Regions from separate parts of the Homo sapiens genome. Here region 1 is linked to region 2. Evidence: promoter capture Hi-C in human tissues and cell types (Jung and others, 2019). All regions are on one chromosome and are shown on one strand. Each heading gives the region's core, a stretch centred on a gene start or on the middle of the fragment in contact. The rest is flanking DNA. Distances are from core to core; before and after follow the strand shown. Region 1 has its middle 39 kb from the start of FAM110C. Region 2 holds the start of FAM110C (family with sequence similarity 110 member C).

What was found. Contacts are between HindIII fragments. The study calls those that stand out against the background at their distance.
Region 1: a contact is called between a fragment that was not itself captured here and the fragment with the promoter of FAM110C in region 2, in 1 of the 25 tissues and cell types used here (H1 embryonic stem cells).

Annotation. Positions count from the first base shown.
Region 1 is chr2:83,007-87,427 of GRCh38, reverse strand. No RefSeq gene overlaps it. Among named protein-coding and RNA genes, the nearest start is that of FAM110C, 39 kb to the right of the region's middle. The HindIII fragment of the contact is 9,190 bases long and covers 1-4,421 here.
Region 2 is chr2:44,093-48,639 of GRCh38, reverse strand. FAM110C (family with sequence similarity 110 member C) reads left to right here and starts at 2,135. Exons shown (of 2, transcript NM_001077710.3): 1 at 2,135-3,200. The coding sequence starts at 2,255. The HindIII fragment of the contact is 12,024 bases long and covers 1-4,547 here.

The DNA of each region.
Region 1 (4,421 bases), core at 1,570-4,069, 38 kb before region 2:
TTTAGTCACTATATATAAGCAAACATATTCCAACTGAATACAGGTGTTTACTAAAGTAATGTATTGGGGATTTTATTTTATTTTATTTATTTTTTTGAGGCAAGGCCTTACTCTGTTGCCTAGGCTGGAGTGCAGTGGTTGAATCACAGCTCACTGTAGCCTTGACCTCCTGGGCTGAAGCGATCCTCCCACCTCAACCTCTCAGATAGCTGGGACCACAGGCACACACCACTATGCCCGGGTAATTTAAAAAAAAAATTGTAGAAACGGGGTCTCTTTATGTTGCTCAGGCTAGTCTTGAACTCCTGGGCTCAAATGATCTTCCTCTTCAGCCTCCCAAAGTTCTGGGATTACAGGCATGAGCCACTGTGCCCAGCTGAATTTTATTTTAGAATAGAAAATAGCCTGAAAACATATGCATGTTTAATAAGTATTTTAACTTCATAAAAATGTTTAAATTCTTTCTTTTCATACAACTGTAGAATTTTTTATCTGAAGATGCAATATTTAGCCACAGATGTTCATATAGAGATGTCTTCATCCTGTACACATAGGAAATATCCTGCAGAATTTAGGCTTTCTGTTCTATAATTAACACAAATATAAAATAAATCATTTGGCTTCAAGAAGAAACTGTTTGTTATCACTAATAAAAGGGGTGAAGATGATAGAAAACACATATGCCTGCTCACCTTTTCCAAAAGCCAGCAGTTGCCAACATCATTTTAAGACGCAAGAATTTTCAGATTGTTTTGGTGTCAGATAAAGAATGTTAATTGCTATGTTGTGGCTTAAGTTTCCCCAGCTTCTAAAATAATACATTTAATCACAATTAAGTATGTGATTTTTCTTGCTTCTTGGCTCCCTTAAATCCAAGTAGCCTTGGATTTCAAGGTCTCTCTACTTGAAAATCTTTCTCAGATGAGCACACTCATTTCACATTGCTCTGCTCATTCATTTTATCAACTTGGCCTTTAGCCCTGCCTCTCACAGAGCAACTTGTGAGCAAAGTGGCTGAAACTGAATACAATACAAAGGCAAATGACCCACGGAATATGTAATAGAGCTATAGGCTGGAACCCAGGTACTCCCCACTGGAACTGTCCTGGGCCACTGCACTCCAATGCTATATTTTACCTTACACATCGGCTGCTTTGGGACCTGTTCCTGTTGATTTGGGTTTCCCCACAATTTCCCTCTGCTGGGCCCTGGCTTTGGTGACCCAACTCTTCCTCAAGTTACAGTTTGGGGTTGGTAGTTTGTCAATGACTGCCCAGGCATTTGGCCTGTGAGCTACTGTCCCCTTCCTCAGGCTAATTCTATTCATGAACCTAACCATTAGCCTTGTCTGGTATCTTCTGGTACATCTGGTACTTTCTGCTCCACTACCGGGCTCCTTCCTTGGGCATCCAAACCCAGGTGATGGGAACTCTGTGACATTCTTTCTCTGCCCACTCACTGAGCAATCTTTCTTGCTTCGAGGCTTCAAGTCATAACATCAAGCTCAGCTTTAGTTAATCAGTACTTGAAATGCCTTCTTCCACTGTGATTAGTAATTCTTTATACTCACAGAGCATTACGTTTTACAATATGCTTTCACATGTCTTTGTGAGGTAGGCGTACAATAGTTTGTCATCTGTTCTAAAGATAGTAGAACCAAATTCTGAGAAGTTAAAAAATTTGTTTAAAGGAATAAGCTGTATTGGACAGAGTAAGGGTCAGGGCCCTAATTTTTTACTTCAAGCCTTGATCTTTCCATTAAACGATAGCTGCCCAGGTTGTAGTGTTTTTTGGCTACAGTAGCAGTGCAGGACACCTGCAACTTAGATATTATGGATCAGAAGAGATGTTCTTCATATTTCTCACTCATCAGCAAAAACCTTTTTAGGCCGTGGTACTCATGACCAGACAATGTGTATTCCCCCAAGATTCTGTTCAGTAGAAACGTTTGAAAATTTAAAGACATTCCATTTTTATCAGATGAAATCTTTGAAGAAATAGCATCGTGGTAGAATATAACCTTTGGAATAACAGACCTCAGTTTGAATCCTGCTTCAGGAACTAACTGGCTATTTAATCTGTTGCTGTTTAATGTAAGCTTCTTCATTTGTAAATCTGAAATATTCGTATTTAATACATAGTGCCTAGTACATATTAGGTGCCTAATTAGTGTTTGACAAAACAATATGTAAATACTCTTAAACTAATGAAGTATGTATGTTTTCTGGGAAAGGAGGTAAAATGAAGACAGTGATAACACCATGAAGGGCCCGGAACATACTAGCTGTTCCAAACCCTGGTGATTGTCAGTGCCTTATGTGATCTTATGATGTGAACTAGGTACTCAGAGAATGGGGAAAACAGAAAGCCATATTTTTTTCAATTCTAGAGTTTGGAAGAAGACCTAGCAATTATTTAATTTAGTTCTTTCATTTTACAGATAAACTTTATTACTAATGTTGGCAAGGGGCAACTAAACAAAATATTAGGGGTCCCAAGAAAGTTGGTAGAAGAGGTGTTAGAATTGCCATTCTACAGATGAGAAAAGGGCACTTTGAGGAGTGAGACAATCAGCCCAGGTCTCATCTAATGAGCACAGTGTGGTTCTTAAGCTCAGCTCTTTGGCTGTAAGACCTCATGTTCTTTCTTGTGTCATTGATTTTTTTAAGTCAAGAAACTTACCCTTGTCAGTTACTTTTACCCTTGCCAATAGTTCTTTCTATTCCTGAATAATGGTTGTCATGCATCTATTGTTACCTGTTGTTTTGCCTTTTTCTCTGTACTTCTATAATATCTCTGATAATATCTACCTCTAGATAAAATAGAAAGAGGAAAAAATACAGTCTACTTTGTGTAAGTGCCTGGAGCAGGCTCAGGGAGTCTGTACGACAATGAATGTTTTCTGAGGGCAGTGGTTGGAATATATGCACATTTTTCTCTTTTATTGATGAGTGCCCACTGATTTACCACTTCAGATTTCCTCAGAGTGTCCCAAAATACTAGTAACTACTAACAGGAAAGCAGGTGGCACTGCATATCGGAAATGCTGGTAATGCCCACATGGTGCTTAGTAACTACGAATTACAGCCTGCAATGACTTGGGAAGCAGGTGCCAGGAAACAGCCACATTTGAATCCATGCAGAGCTGTTCATCCATGAGCTCATTTTCAACACTGCAGTAATTCTTGAACTGAAAGCCACAGCCCTGATGCCAACAGAGGTAGATGCTTTTGTTTTTCTTGCTTTCTTAGCATAGTGCTTTGATTGCATGCAAATGAGACTCTTAAAGAAAAATTAGCAAAAGTTTCTTTAAGAGAACAGCCCTGAAGAGCCAAGCTGAAAAATTCAGTGGCAGAATGGTAAGAATATAAATGTTTCAAGTGAAAAAAAAGAAGATGGAGTTTCTGACTCTAAGATAAGCTATATGTGCTGATTGCAAACCTCTGTGTGGTTGAATATTCTCATCTTACTTAAAATAATAACTGCTATACAAGTCTATGATATGGATAAAATGTGCAAATGAAAATTAGAAAAATTTTGTAAAACATTAAGCAGTTTTTTAAGAACTCAGAGCATGTTATCTGTCTTGCTTCACTTATCCCCAGAAATCCTCTTACCCCCATATTACAGATGCTAGAATCAAACCCAATATTCCACAGCAAGTTATGCCAAAGTCAGGAGAATATTGCAAGTTTCTTGACCCTGGGAGCTATGTGGTGAAATAAAGAAGACATGTTTTATATGTTTTTGGTGCAGTTTTCCTGCTGCTAGTCATTAGCTGATTATTGAAAATGTATACCACACACCATTTCCCCTTACTTCATTACAGGTTAGATACACTTGGCATGGATTTGAGGTTGGAGAAAGATTAAAGACCACAACATAACTACACAAGTCATAGTCAGGGCTTTTTAAAGTTATAGATAAAGAATTATTAAGAAAATAAAGACATATGCCCCAGAGAGGTTGTGATTGTCATCTAATTATTTAATCCTTAAATGCCTTCTTCAGAAGTTAATTAAACAATTGAGGAAAAAGAAGAATTGTTTTGATGTTGATCTGGAGGAGAAAAAAAAACCTCAATGTGAACATGAGATTAAAAAAACTTACCTATCCCTATCAAGTAGACAATTTCAATACCTTAATTCTTGTCATTACAAAAGGTACATTTAAATGACACAGTGGTTGCTAGTCCATCCCTACTCTCAGGAAGGGGGGCATGGGAAGGGGATATGGTACCCTCTTCTGCCCTTATGGTCAGGGGCTGGCCTTGTACCTTGAGTAAGCCCTTGGTGCTCTCCTGTTGAAGACAAACAAGTCAGAGAACATCAGCATCAGACAGCATCAGACAACATCAGTCATGGAATAAGGCAAAAACAAGATTCCCCAACAATCACATCTGAACACAGACAAAATATGAA
Region 2 (4,547 bases), core at 886-3,385:
ACATTTTCTTTGTCCAGTCTATAATGGGCCTTTGGGTTGATTCTACATCTTTGCCATTGTGAGTAGTGCTGCAGTGAACATATGTGTGCATGTATCTTCATAAGACAATAATTTGTATTTCTTTGGGTGTATACTCAGTAATGGTATTGCTGGGTCAAATGATATTTCTGGTTCTAGGTCTTTGAGTAATTGTCACACTGTCTTCCACAGTAGTTGAACTAATTTACATTCCCATCAATGTGTGAAAACGTTCCTATTTGTCTGCAGCCTCTCTAGCATCTGTTGTTTCTTGACTTTTTATAACAGCCATTCTGACTTGCGTGAGATGGTATTTCATTGGCTTTGATTTGCATCTCTCTAATGATCTATGATGTTGAGCTTTTTTCATATGTTTGTTGGCCACATAAATGTCTTCCTTTGAGAAGTGTCTGTTCATGTCCTTTGTCCGCTTTTTAATGGGATTGTCTTTTCTTGTAAATTTAAAACAGAAATTTTTACAGGTGACAAAACAACCTGGAACGTTTGTTACCTGTCCAAAGGTAAATTGTGGACCCAGGGTCAAATTCCAGAGGTCCTGTACTTTGCAGTTCTCTGTCTTAGAAGTGCTGCTGTTGCCCATGAAGTAGTGCAAATTAGGAAAAGAAGACACTTTGGGCTACACAATTAAAAAGGTTTTTTCCTCTGACTTAGGGAACAGGCTTGCCAAGCAGAGAGCAGGCTGGACTTTAGACCTCAAGGCCCCATCCTCCCGCATCCTGTAGGAAACCATCTGTGGCAACCCAGGAGCTCCCCCTTTCTCCATCTCTGTCCCTCTCTTTCACTCCCCACCCCCGCATCCTTCCTTCTCTTCTCCCACTCTCTACTTTATTGGCCTAGACTCCTTTTCCTATGAGTCTTACATGTTCCAACGAGGCTGTCTGGGCGGTCTGGCTTTCAGGAGGCGATTTATTGTTGTGCTACTATCCCTATGAAATTTTGCTTCGCTGGGGCTCAAGGAGATTAAAGACCCCCAAGGCCCACTCAGCACCACCCTGCTGCGGTCCTCTTCCTCGTTGGTGAGGTGTTCGTGCCCACTTTGGGGGCCCATCTGCACCTGTCGCCCTCCCTGCCTTCCGGGCTGCTGCTGCTCGGAGCGTTCAACCACAAGGCTGAAAGCACAGCCTGTTACGGAGTTGTCTTCACAACGCGATAACGTGAACATTTCACATGTCTGAGAGATAACTTTAGTATTTTGTCCAAATTTTTGAAATAATGGAGTTTGGGAAGTATTTTATCTTAGACTCTTAGCATTCCTAGGCTGATCCACTGCCTGGTGAACTCGTGGTTTCCCCGTTGCCTCGGTTACCGTAAAAATAGCAATGATTCTGGACACTTGGCTGGGCTTCTTCCAAATCCACTGAGCCGCGCCTGGGGCCCCAGCCTGCCCCACTGAGAGTCCTAGCTCGGTCCTCGGGCCCGGCCACGCCCGCTGCCGGCCAGCGACCGAGTCGGACCCAATCCGAGGCCCTGCGTTCTTGCCACCCAACACGTAGGCTGATCCTGGCGTGCGCTGCGTGTTCTTTCCTCTTATGTCCTATTCCTTTCTGTTAATAAGAATATGAGCTCAGGTAGACAAAATTAAACAGTCAAGTTTCCAAACACGATGAGGTCACTTTAAGAATTCAAAGGATGTGAGGCACCTGCCCGGGGGAGGTGGGGGGACGTCCCCTCTGCTCCCCCTCCCCGGAAATGCCTGCGTCCAGCAGTGACCTCGGGGATCTGGGGCTGAGCGAGTGGGGGTTCAGAGCCTGCTCGCCCCAGCGTCCTCCAGGCGGTTGGCAGCGCCGCCGGAAGGTGAGGGGGGGCGGGGACGGCACCGGGCAGGAGGTGAGGGCCGGGACCCCGGACGCGAGGTGAGGGCGGGCGCTGGCACCCGGAGAGCGGCCAGGGAGGCGGGCCCGGGCGGGAGTGAGGAGGCGGGGACGGGCGGGGACGAGCGGGGATGCGGGGACGCGGCCAGGGCCGGGGCACCGGGCGGGGGCGGGGGCGGTGCCAGTCGGTGTGGGCGATGAGGTCGGGAGGGGCGGGAACTGGGGAGTTTCGCCAATCGGTGCAGACTCCGGTTCTCCCCAACCCCGGGCCTGGGCAGCTGGGCACTGGGGCGCCGTTCCCCACCCGGCGCGGACTTCGGAACCGGCCCTGGGACTGACTGGCTCTACCACTCGAGCGCGTCTCCGCTGGACCCGGAACCCCGGTCGGTCCATTCCCCGCGAAGATGCGCGCCCTGGCGGCCCTGAGCGCGCCCCCGAACGAGCGGCTCCTTCCCCGGGACCCCGCGGCTACCCGGGACCCCGACGCCGCGCGGCCGGCGCGCAGGAGCGCAGTGGAGAGGCTGGCGGCGGATCGCGCCAAGTATGTGCGGGGTCGGCCGGGGACTGGCCGGGGCGTCGCTTCCGAGGGCAGCGGCCCGGGGGCGATCAAGTGCCCGGGGAACGACCCTGGGCCCCCGGCCCGCGCCCCGGCCCCGGTGGCGCGCAGGGCTATTGCGCGGAAGCCGTTGAGACCGGACTCGCTGATCATCTACCGGCAGAAATGCGAATTCGTGCGAGGATCGGGCGCCGACGGCCCCAGGGCAAGCCTGGTGAAGAAGCTCTTCCAGGGGCCGGGTAAGGACAAGGCGCCGGTGCCCCGGACGGGAGACGAGGGCAAGGCCGGGAACCCGGAGACGGTCCCGACCACTCCTGGCCCCGCGGCGGACCCCGCAATCCCCGAGACCCCAGCCCCAGCCGCGCGGTCCGCGGCGCCCTCCAGTGTCCCGGCCGCGCCCCCTGGGCCAGAGCCGCGGGTGGTGAGGCGTCGGGGGCTGCAGCGCTCACAGTCGGACCTCAGCTCCCGCTATTCCGCTGCCTTGGCCGAGTCTGACACCTTCTTCCAGTACTGCGGCCTGGACCCCGAGGTGGTGGAGGCCCTGGGGAGGGAGAACTTCACCGCGGGGTCGGACTGTGTGACCCTCAAGGTGCGCAGCGTGAGCGTCGCCACCTCCGGCAGCGGCTTCTCCCGGCACAGCGGCGGCGACGACGAGGGGCTGCAGGAGGAGGAGCTGATAGAGCAGGTGCCCAGCACCACTTCGGTCATCGAGAGGAACGCCCGCATCATCAAGTGGCTGTACACCTGTAAGAAGGCCAAGGAGACCCCCAGCCAGGAGCAGAGCCGGACCCGAGGTGTGTGCCCAGAAGGCTGGGGGCGGGGCTGGCCGTGTGCGGGGCTGTGAATCTTGGTGAGTGTGACCGAGCTGGGCGATGGCCAGTTACAGCTGCTTAGAATTGAGTGCGATTTTGAGCTACAGTGTGAAAGGGACCCAAGAGACTGACGCAGAGGCTTGTGAGTTGAGCCCCCGCTGCTGAAGAGCAGAAGGTACCAATCCAGGCACCTGCTGGTCCAGGCCCTTAGGAGTCTGCTGCGTCTGGCTGCCTGGAAAGGCAATTCTGCAAATTAATATGTCCCATTTGGCTTATTATTGTGAAAACAGGAGAAATCCAAAATGCTGCCAGAAAGCAGTTTTACACCCCTAGTATTCTTTCCTGAGCTGAAAACAGCTTGAGAGCCCTAGTTCCTGAGTTCATTGACCTGTGCTGTGGGCGGTCCTGATGTTTGATTGGAGCTGACCAGTCCACCTGCAGCCCTAGGTAGGCGCTGCTGTGTTACTGGAACAGAAAGGAAGACTCCCTGCACTTTCCTGGAGGCCTGTGCTGAAGTGGTGAGAACTTCTCCACAGGATCTTGTAGCACTTTGGCATTCACTTAGCAACAAAGATCTTTATTTGGCTAAATTTTATTTAAATTGTTTTGAGAGCTTCAGGTTTTTAAACTGGGGAAATTGGACTAGATTGTAACTAGAGTCTATAGTTTATTTGCCTCTGATGACACTACAGGAAGTAACCTCCCTTTGGACAACCAGTAGTGCCGGATTGACCTCGAGCTCTTTTTGCTTTTCACTGGGGAACTGAGGAGTGCTGGTCTTCACTGTTACCTGCTCTTCCCTATGGGCGTCTTGGAAAGTAGTGAAGAGAAAGAACCTTTTCAGGGCTGTCTTTGAGAACGAACAATTTAAACTTTGCGACATCTTTTTTTTCCTCTTACCCTTCAATGACAACTTGCTATAAGTAAATTTTAAAAATCATGAGATGAAATTATTTTCTGCCATTGTGATAAACTAAGTGAAGATGCATGGCAGCCTGTAGAGTTTGGGGGAGGCTGCCCAAGAGATGTTTGCACAGGGCTCACCTATGTTTGACAGCTAAAAATATCTCCAATAATTTCTCTGGCTATGACTTTAGTACAGACATGAAAATTAATGAGAAGAAGATAATTCATTCTTTTTCTTGAACTCAGAAGGCTCAGGACTTAAGTTCTTCCTTATAATTTATAGAAGATTTGTGTTTTCCACTAGCCTAAGTTCCCAACAAATATATATAGGCAAAGTTCTAAAAAGCAAACAAACATTAATTTGTAGTTTTCACAAATTGTCTTTTGGATCTGAGATGAATGAATGCTGGCAAGGGTATTTCC